3 separate regions of the Homo sapiens genome follow, and all the other regions are linked to region 3. Evidence: promoter capture Hi-C in 16 types of primary human blood cells and fetal thymus (Javierre and others, 2016). All regions are on one chromosome and are shown on one strand. Each heading gives the region's core, a stretch centred on a gene start or on the middle of the fragment in contact. The rest is flanking DNA. Distances are from core to core; before and after follow the strand shown. Region 1 overlaps LOC105375911 (a long non-coding RNA gene). Region 2 overlaps MITA1 (metabolism induced tumor activator 1). Region 3 holds the start of ZC2HC1A (zinc finger C2HC-type containing 1A).

Region 1 (3,880 bases), core at 1,319-3,818, 190 kb before region 3:
TATATATATATATATATATATATATATATATATATATTTTTGTCTGATTATCTCTTATATTTCACAAGGTGTTCATCTATAAACAGAGAATAATATGAATCATCTCTGTGAGAGAAAGTATACACAACACCCCCTAATATTCTATCCTTAATTGTGGACTTTCTGGATGAAATAGCATTTGACATAGTTTTAATTTGGGCACTTGACAGTATAGGCAAGAGGAAAAACATAGTTCTAGGATTTGCCTAGGCAACATGGATACAAATCAGCTAAGAAGTCACTTTTAGGCCGGGCGTGGTGGCTTACATCTGTAATCCCTGCACTTTGGGAGGCCGAGGCAGGCGAATCATCTGAGGTCAGGAGCTCGAGACCAGCCTAGCTAACATGGTGAAACCCCATTTCTACTAAAAATACAAAGAATTAGCTAGGCATGATGGCACGTGCCTGTAATCCCAGCTACTCGGGAGGCTGAGGCAGGAGAATCGCTTGAACCCAGGAGAAGGAGGTTGAAATTAGCTGAGCTTGCTCCATTGCACTCCAGCTTGGGCAACAACAGCGAAACTCCATCTCAAAAAAAAAAAAAAGTCATTTTTTAAAGTTAACTAAAAAAGAAATAACACTGGAAACCCATGAAATGAAAAGTATCACTTGAAACTGGTTAGGCTAAAAAGGAATAACATAAAGTTGGAATGAATAACTATACATTTAGGAACATCACTATTTCCTTAGAGCCTAATATATTTTATTATCTTTCTCATTTTCTTTTTCAAAATTCAAAGTATTATGTACAACATGAATTTTAGGATTGTTTAACTATAACTACACACCTATGTATATTTTTGAAATAGAACTCTGATCAATTTTGAATTTTCAGTTTCAAAATCTGAAAATTGAGGAAACAAAAAATGAATAAAATATTCAATATGGTTGTCTAGACCAAAATTCATGCCTTCTTTTTAACCTAAATAATGCATAACAGAACTGAGAAAAATGTCTGTTTAGCAAAGCACATACTATCATCACTATAATATTAGGAACAAATTATAAATACGGTGATGATAAATTTTAAATGAAATTATTTTCATCAGACATCTTAACACCTAGAAGTCATACTTCATTTAATATATATACTTATATATAGATAATATATATACATTATATATATATAAAGAACAATGCCTATCACTATATTTGAAGTTAATGAAAAAATACAAAATAAATGCTCATTAGGTTTAGCCCTTAATGTCACTAAACAGATGGCTCTAACTGCTGTTCCCACTTTAATGACAGCATAATCTGGAATCTAAAGGTCATACCAGGTATAGGTCACCTCTGGACACTCTCTACATCTTAAAAGTAAGTCAGCCATTTCTTCTAACTTTCCTTTCCAAGGGACAGATTAACAAGAATCTATTTCATTTAATATGGCTTCTTAAAGACAGCTTTAGCAGAACAAAAGTACTTTTTTTCTAAGTAAAACTTCACGGTCTCTATTTACTTTTAACCAAAGAAACCATTTCTCTCTATTTAATTACTATTAATATGTCATTTTTCCCTCCTTCAAGGCTCAGCTTAAGTATTGCCTCTTAAATTTTATTATCCTATTTTAACCATGATGCATAATTCTGTTTTATAAATTTGTGTAGCACTTATTTTATTCATATTGCTATATAATTATACAAATTTATTAGAGAAAAGGAAGATATTCAATTTTTCTATATTCTGTATGGCAAATGCAAGAATAGCAGGCATATAGTAGAGAATAGTTATTTATTAAATTAAATTAAGAGAAATGTTTTTTTTTTTTTTTGGAATACTCTAGCTACTGGAAGTCCTCCATGCATGCTAGAATAATCATGACTCCAATATCTATCTTCTACACATATTTCCTCTGCCCTTATTATCCTACCCTGTACCCGCAAACAAAACCTCATCTACTTGCCAAAGCTTTGTTCATCTTTCAAGGCTTCACTGGGTTACCTGATAACCAGCTCAATTAATGAAATGAAAGGGCGTTCTGGAGTATGGGTATATTTGTCTGATTTGGCTGCCATAACAAAATTCCATAGGTTGAGTGACTTAAACAACAGAAATTTATCTTCTCAGGATCTGGAGGTTGGAAGTGCAAGATCAGTGTGCCCAACTTAGTTAGATTCTGGCTTGCAGATTCTCTTCCTGGCTTGCAGATGGCCAGCTTCTTTCTATGTGCTCAAATGGCCTTTCCTGGTTTATTTTCATAAGGGCACTAACACCATCATAAAAGCCTGACCTTCGTGATCTTGTTTAATCCTAATTACTTTCCAAAGGGCCCATCTCCAAATACCATTACATTGGGGATTAGGGTTTCAACATACAAATTTTGAAGGGACACAAACATTCAGTCTATAATAATTGGAAAAAACAAAGACTTTGGATTAGCTGGGCCTGGGTTTAAATCTTGTTCTACTATTTCAGACATATGTGACTTTGGCTGACTTATACTCAGAGACTCTGTTATCTGTGAATGGAGACTATCAATACTAACTTCATAATTATAATAATCACAACCATCATGATAATTTTTGAGCATTTACTATAGTTTTTTACTATATAGCATTCACTAATAGTTTTTTCAATGACTCTATAAGTATTAAATTATTTAATTATCTGAATAATCCTATGAGGCAAATGATATTGTTAGCATGATTTTATATTGGGAAACTAATATGGAAAAGAGCATAAATTACCTCACAGATCTGATATAAATATTAAATAAATATGTAAAATACCCAGTATATAGTGAAATGTATAGTTCCATCCCTTTTACATATGCAACAAGCTGTCAAAGAAATAAAAATACTAAGTATTTATATCATCAAAGAAAGAACCGTTATGACTGGCATACTTTAGCAATTCACATTATCATCCCCTAAAAATACCAACTTGTCTTTAAAAACTGCCCAAAAGGACTTAATCACAACACATTTTTAGTTTTAAGCAAACAAATAATGTAGTAGCAAGAGGGATTTGAGTTTTTCTTCCATTTTCCATGATCTTAAACATCAAAAGTTATCAGTGTCAATCCTTATCAATTTAAAGTGTTCTCCATCCAATAGTTCCTCCTAATAATTCTTGCCATTTGAAACAATACTTAATTAGAAACAACATATAATACCAATATTAGAATATCCCTGCTTTATTTATATGTTTAAAGCTTCCATGTTGATCCAGAAGCAAATTATCCTTATGATTGCCAATCTAAAAAGAAGAGATGGAAAAGGATATTTGCTAAAAATGTTTTGAAAAAACATTTTTAAATTCAAGGCAATGGTTTATATGTTTAAGGACTTGCCTACCCCAATGTATTTTCTTTAAGTTTATGTTATTTCTTTACATATTCAGATATGCTTCTTCAGAATGCTAGTAGCATATTAATTTCATAAAGTAGATTAGAACTTCATGATCTTGGTTGCACATCAGAATCTCTAAGAATCTTTCAAAAAATGCCCATGTTCAGGCCTTACTCTTCAACAATTGATTTAAAATATCTGTAGGTAGAGTCTGGATATGAGTATTTTATAAAAATATTTTAGTTGAATTTGATGTGCAATGATTAAGGTAAATGTTCAAGTCAACAACACTCATATGCATTGATATCCATGACGAAGCACTTTTCAGATTACGCAAACCACTAAATCTTGGCTTAAATAACAGAAATAAATAATATAGTCGCAAAAGTTTCCCTGTAATAAAATCAGAATCCTGACAGAAAGTAGGACCAAGAGGCTTAATATGGTAATAAACTTGGCAGATATATCTAAGAATCCTGTGCCACAAGATTTTAACTTTCTGAGATACTTTTCCACTTGCTAGGGGAAAACAGCCTCCTTTTTCCTAGTCA
Region 2 (3,659 bases), core at 688-3,187, 180 kb after region 3:
TTGAAAGCCAAGTAATGAGCCATTTTAAATGTTTCTAGGTAATCAAATAAGGTGAAAGCTAAGAACCTGCCAGTGGTTTAGCAATATGGAGGTCACTGAAGACTTTGATCTAGCCATGGTTCAGCAGAGTGACAGGAGTAGGAGAAAGGGAGGATATGAAGGTACAAGGAGCAGAGAAATGAATGTGTTTCATTTAAAAAATTAGTTTCAGCTGGGCAAGGTGGCTCACGCCTGTGATCCTAGCACTTTGGGAGGCCAAGGAGGGCGGATCACCAGAGGTCAGGAGTTCGAGATGAGCCTGGCCAACATGGTGAAACCCCATCTCTACTAAAAATACAAAATTAGCTGGGCCTGGTGGCGTGCACCTGTAATCCCAGCTACTCGGGAGCCCGAGGCAAGAGAATCACTTGAACCTGGGAGATGGAGGTTGCAGTGAGCCAAGTTCGTGTCATTGCACTACAGCCTGGGCAAAAACAGTGAAACTCCACCTCAAAAAAAAAAAAGAAAGAAAGAAAGAAAGAAAGAAAGAAAAAAGTGTTTCATATGGTAGAAGTAACAGTACACTTGTATGCTGATGGAAATGATAACATATAGAGATGGGGAAATTGATGTTGCAGGAGAAAGAAGAGAGATTTGGGGAGCTGGTTCCTTGAATAGGTTAACCGTAACCTAAGGCAACATAGTGAATAATTGAGGAGTTGCCCTTGGGTAAGAATGCAGGCAGTTTATCTATAACAAAGGAAAACAGAGTGAAGGTAGTTACTAGGTGCAAATATAATGATGAGAGCTTGTTAGAGTGTCTTCTGTTGCTTCAGTTTATTTATATATATTTTTTTGAACAAAGTAGAAAGCAGAGCCATTGGGTGAGAGTGACAATAGAAGAGGTGTTGAGCATGAGGAGGGAGAAAGACATTTATGAAAATAGTCATCCAGAGAATGGATTAGATAATCAGCACATGCAAGTAATGTAGAGGTGGGGCTGCATGACGGGTGTCCTTCTGACCATTGTTGCTCAGGGTAGTTCAGTACTTCCAGGCTGGTCAAAAATTAGTAGAGTTCTGCTCTTAGTCTCTCTCCTCTTCTGCCTCTGCTTCCCAAGGAGTTCAGCCAGAACCTCTGTCTCTTTCCCTGCCTAAACTGAGCTGCTTGCACTCCTGTGATTTATATACCATCCTTGTCTCCAGTTGTTCACACTTTGTAACTTACTGTTATTAGTTATTATATTAAAAATTAATGCTGTCCATGGAGGTTATGATTGGCTAAGCTTGGATATATAACTAGATTTAAAAGAAGGAACTGTTATCTCTGAATCAAGTTTGTGGATTGGAATTATGGAAACATGATTATAAGTTAATGTAACCATTTTAAAATAAGCAATAGATAGCATCTGGCCATAAAGACCTTTTATTCTGGATATTTAATGAATGGGCAAGAAGGATATATACTTTTGTGAATGTGTAGGAAATGTCTTCTTTACATATTTCTGTTCTTTGGTGAACAGGAAAGAAAGTGAGGGCTAGAGGAGCCCCCAGAAAGTGGAGCATTTTCCCATTTTTACTTATATCAACTTAGCAGAAAATAAATGCCTTATGGCTGTAGCGGAATAGTCAGTACCAGATGAGCGAAGCTAAATGCAAGAATTTGCAGTGCCAAGCTCCACCGAATCCCTAAACAGCCACTGACCGATCTTGATTCCAAGTTCAACGTATTAGTGTGAGTTGAATGAGTGTTTCATTAATACTCTAAAATCTAAGTCAAATTGAACAAAGATCATGAATAGCTAAGAATTACTCTTGTAAGTATAATGAGGAGTAGAACGGGTAAGAGAAGTCAGGAAAAAATAAAGAAACTGTGGACTCAAAGTCAGAAGTCCTGAGTTTTAAACATGGTTTTGCCATTGACTAGAAACCTTAAACAAATCCTGTAACCAGTAAAGCCCTGAACTTCTTATTTGAAAATGCAGGCTTGAGTTAGATGTCTTCTAAAGACTCTTTTAGCACTAAAAAGTAATTCTATGAAGTTAATCTTTATTAAATTGTCTTATCTATTAAAATATAATGATAAAATATCTTGATGTTTATCTTAATGTATTTAGTTTTTTAGTTTTTAAAGAAAATAGGTCTTTAGTTTTTGATAATTAATATGTTTTGTTTTTGTTAATAAAATTAACACTTTAAAAAAATACAGAAATCTAAACAATAAGAAAGTGAAGGAAGAAAGCACATCCAGTCCTATGTCTCCCTAGTAATGTTTGATGTTTGTAAGGCTACCATATAACAGTTGCTATTGTGAATGAAATATCTTTGTTTTATTTTAACTAGTTGTTTCCTTATTATAGAAAAGCTACCTTTAAAAATACTAATTTCTCAACTGATTGTCTTTGCTGAACTCTCTAAGTTACTTTTAGTCAATATTCTTGTTTTCTTTATGTAGCAAACTATTTTGTCTACAAATAAAATTTAACAAATTTTGAGTCTTTATCATATAATGCCTCCTTTTGATTGTTTATACTTAATATTCTTAGAAAACATTTTTCAGTGATTCCTTTGGCTAGCTTTCCTAGAAGAATATTATTAGTAATGGTGAGAGAGAAAATTTCTGGCTGTTAGTTTAAGCTTTTTTTTTCTTTAAAAAATATGCTAAAGGTCTTTATTAAGAAGTTTTAAAAAAAGTTGAATAGGCATTTGATGACTTTTTAGAACATATGGTGACTACAGATTCTTTTCCTCAGTCTATTTGTGGGAGAAATTATATTAACAAATCTTTTAGCATTAAACCATTTTTATGTTCTGCAATGAACATCAGTTGGTCATTAATAGAATTTCAGTACAGCAATGGATTACAAATATTAACATCTTATTACTAATTTTTGCTGTTAAATTTATGTTGAAATGGGTCTGGGGTTTTATTATTTGTAGGTTGTTTTGGTTGAGTTTTGCTTCGGGGTTACATGAATTTTGTATAAAATCATGTGAAGCCTTCCTTCTTCCTCTGAGCTCATAGAAGTAAACTCTTCCCTGAAATCTGAAAGAATTCTTCTACAACATTTTGTTGTTCTATAATAGCTCTGTCAGTTTTCTTTTATTATTGATTTATTTTGGTCCACTTATATTTTTCCACAAAAAAATGTCTTTCAAACAGATTTTTAAACTTATATGAACAGGGTTGAATACTTTACACAGAGTTAATAACTTTCCTGGGAACTTGAAAAATGGAGAATTATCTGTATATGATAGCTTATATTATTGTACAGCTTTATAATTACCTTGACACTACAGTTTCTCCTTAAAATTTTATCCTCTTTCCTGAAATAAATCTATTTGCAAAGAATACGCCTAATCTATGTTTCACATGCTGTGCTTTCTGCCATATTTTTAAAACATTTTTTTTTTTTGCTTGTACTCATCTTTGAATAAAGACTGTACAAGACAGCTTTTGTTCCTAAAATAACATGGATAGATCATTCATGGTTTCTCCTGTTTACCTGGCTGCCATTTTAATTCATCCTTCAAATTTAAATATAAATTCAGTCATGCTGCACCTGGGCAGGTAGGAAAAGAGCTATGGCCATGCAAAGCTTTATTTCTGCATTTTTTCTCTATATATTTGCTAGGAAAGAATGCACCAAATTTCAGTTCTAGTGTGTTGTGTGAGATCTA
Region 3 (3,953 bases), core at 424-2,923:
TCTGATAAATGAAGATTGTAGTATCTACTTTGTAGATTTCTTTTGAAGATTTGTGAATATATGAAAATGGCCTAAAACATGCCTCACATGATTTATTCTTTAATGCTATTTTTATTATTTTTAATGTTACTGTAGATTTTATGTCGAATAAGGTATCAGCCAACTCAATATTCGTCTTGCCTTCAGTGAAAGAACTTGTAATTTGTAAAATAATGGCTTCCTTATTTTTGTATTTTCTTCTGTGTGCTTTTTTTTCTCCTTAATGCTCTTTTAAAAGGCCTTCCCTCCCAACCAAAAATTCTACCTTTGCCTTAGTAGCACTAAGGAAGAAAAAGGACCTTTCCGCAGCACCCAGTCTAGAGTAGCTTATTGCCTGCAAGGCTATGGGTTGGCCAAGGAGGCCCAGGATCTCAGAGAAGCAGAAGAGCCAGGGGAACCAGGGAAGGGCGGAGGGAGTCATTGAGGCATGGTTGAAGTGGTCTTTACATGGCTCCACACAACAGATGGACTCTACCACATTCAAATGCACTTGGAGCACCTTCTCAGTAAGAGATGATGCCCCCTCAAGTGTTTGCTTGTTTAAACATACCTTCATGTGAGTGGAGAGTAGGAGGAATCCTGCTTCCTGAAGGTAACTGATTTCATAGTAGATGAAGTTAGATATGAAGTTAAACTCTTCAATTAAACAGATTAACAATAACATTAATCCGAGGTTTGTTATGGACAACACATTAATACTGGTAACTTGCCAGTAGATACGCTATAGTCAGCAAACAGTACAGCTTGTTTACGATTGCTAAATCAAATTTTCAAAGAAATGTAGTTCTGGTAATTGTAAGCAAAACCGTTAAAATGGTCTGAGTTAGTTTTGAAGTTACTTTCATCTTCAGGAGGTTTTGAACTCTGTTAGAGACGGGCGGGCCTCATTCTGTCAGGTTGTAGGTTAATTCCCCAACTCAAACTTCCCCGATCAAACATTGTCAGGCCAGGCGACTGTTTTGGTTTATGGATGATAAAGTATAGGGCCAAGGTAGGCCAAGAGTAGAAGACAGAGGGAGGGCTGGGTTTCACTTCTAATTTTTGGCCCAAGCTTTCATGGTGAGGAAACTGTTTTCAAGGGCTTAGAGCAATCGCAGTTCCACAATCGCAGATAGAAAGTATGATTTCTCTGGAAAAAAAGTGTCTTAACCTATGAAGCTGTGTGTGAAGATCAAGTGTAGGGGATACGCTGAGGTCAAGTCATGCGACCAAAGACCGGAAAACGGAGATTGCTGCATGCAAGCGTGCTGGGCGTTTGTTTGGTTTGCTTGCCTGCTTAAAGTATCCACTGGGAGGGATGGCGGCTAGAAGTCAGAGGCATTGACTGATTGAGGAACTGGTGAAGCGGAGCCCATGAGGTGCTGAGGTACTCTAAATAGGAGGATAAGGTATGAGGCAAAACAAGGCTGGAGTCAAACAAAGGCGCCGTTGCATCGCAGATTGCAACCTGAAGCGGCTCCCGGCTCCCTGGAGAGTAACCCGGAGAGACGGACAGGGGTGGCAGCCAGGAGGAGACCGCAGGAACCTCGCCTCCGCCGCGGCCCCGCCCCCACGGATCCCCGCCCCCGCAGTTGCGGAACCAATGGGAGCTCGGAATGTTAGCGGGTGGGAGGTGCGGCTGGGTTGCTACAGCCAGAGCTGGGCGGTGGCGGGCGCTGCTGAAGGAGTCTCGCTGAGCTCGAGGAGGTGGCGCGATGGAGGGACTGGAAGGTGAGGCGATGAAGGGATGAGGGCAGGACGGCTAGAGCGGGCCCGAAACAGCTGGGGACCCTGGACACCAGTAGCAGGAAGGCGAGGGCTGGTTCGGTGCGGCGGACCTCGCCGCGTCCCGCCGCGCCTCCGGAGGCTGGGGCCGAAGGGAACCGGACAGTCCCCGATGCGGTGGAGCTAACGCTACCAGGCTGCCCCGCCTCAGACGGTCTTCAACTGGGCTTTCCCGCCCGGAGCCAGATCCTGCCCCTGGCAAGACGCCTGCACGTCTCTTCCTACCATTTTCTGATCTTGCTTGACTCCTGAGTGCCCTTTTAGTGATCCCAGTCTCTGGCCAGATTTTGTTTTCCTTGTACTGGACTCTCTCCATTATTGTCCACGGCCTTAACACCAACAGGCCACTTTGTGCTGCAGCCCCGGGGTGTGTCTCCAGCCTCGAGCTCCTGACATTCCTTGGCCGATTTCCCTAGGTAACCGGCTTTTTACATTTCGACAGCATCTTCTGTCGGAGGGATGTCAGAGCATCTCCTAAGGAAGTGTCACTGGCCAGCTTTAGAGCCGGTACAATAGATTACCCGGAGGATTTGATGACTTATTCACGGCCGCTGTGTGAGGAAGAGCCTGTATTGGTTCCTTATCTTTGGGTTTATCTTTGTACTGTAACCATGACTCCAGATTTTGCTTTGTTCCCAGTTCTTTCACTTTTTCTCTATTCTGTTTACCCATTTTATCCTGTGTAATGAAAGCATTCACCTAAAAACAAAGGAAGGACAAAAACCACAATAACTAGCATTGGCAACAACAGTTTCAAGATTTTTTAATTTGTTATGATGAAGAACAAACCTTCAGAATTGAAAGATCCTATTGTCTTGATTTAGCTCCTTTCCCCCGTCTCCTAGTTTACACGGATTCAGTTGGAATTAAGAATGAGCAGAAGCTTTTGAGTCTTGTGTATTGTTGCATGCCAGGGAGTAAAATATTCTACATTGTGTGATGAAGTGCAAAGTGGTAGCCGGTAACTTTTTCAGTCACCTATTCACCAAAAAGCAGATGTAATAACATGAGTAGAAGTTTATTTCGTGCTTTTGCTCTGATAAATGATTCTGATAATTTTCCGTTTGTGGACAGCTGCAGTATGCTATGGCCTAATGAAGGTCTTGTTTTTTGCTTATGTGTTTTTGGAAGATAATTCAAGTTTCCATGAAATAAGGAATTGTAATGATAGTACAGTATATTTTACTTTCAAGATACTTTTGTATCTTGGTGGGATTAAAGCATGGGTTATGGAATTCTCATGAGATTATCATATATAATATGATAAGGTTTTATTACATATTATCTATAAAGTGTTTTGAACAGTTTGCAGATTTTTATTATTTTATTCAACATTTGTTATTAAGACAAAGATCATCATCTGATTTTTCACTTATGTATCCTAGGCACCTAAAACAATGTCTGACACAAAGTAGGTACTCAATAAATATTTGTTGTTAAATAAATGTCTATTATGGGCATCTTTTTAGGTTCTAGGTTGCAGCAAAGAATAAAAATGATAAAGCTTTACTCTCATCGAACCTACATTTTAGTGGACCTTACATTTTAACAGTGCTAAGATATTACTATTGAAACCTTACTACGAATGTTTTTAAAATATAATGGAAACCTATTATGACACTCAGTTGCATAGGTGGACAAAGGTAGGATTCTGTATTTATAGGCATATTTTATGGGTCCAGCTTATGATGTTATAGGGCCCAGCTTATGATGTTAATAGTGCTTGCCCTTTACTTTTAGATTTTTTTTTTTTACAAAATAAGATGCTATCATTAACTATAATGTGTTTAATTGTGATAAACTGAGTTGAAATATGTGAAGTTGCCCTAAATTATGTAGGGCAAAACAGTTGAATTCTGGTAATTTCAAGCAGTTCAATCTAATAAAAGCTCTTGAGAATTTTCTGTTGAAGTTAGGATGGTGCCTTTCTCTCCTTCCTCCTTCTCCCCTCTCCCTCCCCTAAGAGATCACACCTTGCAAATATCAAACTCTGAGTCTTAAGGTTACCGTTCATTAATTCATCCATTCTTTCATTCTAGAAACATTGATACAGTGATAGATTAGGTAGTTTCTTACCTCTATTGGAAGTTAAAGTCTAGTACTTTGAAGGTGTTTAATAAATATTATATTGCAGTATCCAGTAAGAAATA

The links. The method cuts DNA at HindIII sites, captures the fragments that hold promoters and counts their contacts. A CHiCAGO score of 5 or more calls a contact.
Region 1: a contact is called between a fragment that was not itself captured here and the fragment with the promoter of ZC2HC1A in region 3, in 3 of 17 cell types (activated CD4 T cells, non-activated CD4 T cells and fetal thymus). The highest score is 7.2, in activated CD4 T cells.
Region 2: a fragment that was not itself captured here is called in contact with the fragment with the promoter of ZC2HC1A in region 3 in 2 of 17 cell types (total B cells and naive B cells); the score reaches 5.9 in total B cells.

The regions. Positions count from the first base shown.
Region 1 is chr8:78,474,122-78,478,001 of GRCh38, forward strand. All of the region lies in intron 2 of LOC105375911 (a long non-coding RNA gene), which reads right to left. Among named protein-coding and RNA genes, the nearest start is that of PKIA, 40 kb to the right of the region's middle. The HindIII fragment of the contact is 1,246 bases long and covers 1,946-3,191 here.
Region 2 is chr8:78,843,324-78,846,982 of GRCh38, forward strand. The region is part of intron 1 of MITA1 (metabolism induced tumor activator 1); the gene reads left to right. Among named protein-coding and RNA genes, the nearest start is that of LINC02605, 7.6 kb to the left of the region's middle. The HindIII fragment of the contact is 1,351 bases long and covers 1,263-2,613 here.
Region 3 is chr8:78,664,416-78,668,368 of GRCh38, forward strand. It overlaps ZC2HC1A (zinc finger C2HC-type containing 1A), which reads left to right and starts at 1,674. Exons shown (of 9, transcript NM_016010.3): 1 at 1,674-1,749. The coding sequence starts at 1,734. It overlaps LOC105375911 (a long non-coding RNA gene), which reads right to left and starts at 1,564. Exons shown (of 4, transcript XR_007060972.1): 1 at 590-1,564. RefSeq lists enhancers at 797-1,305, 1,306-1,813, 1,778-1,827 and a silencer at 1,488-1,707. The HindIII fragment of the contact is 1,596 bases long and covers 1,089-2,684 here.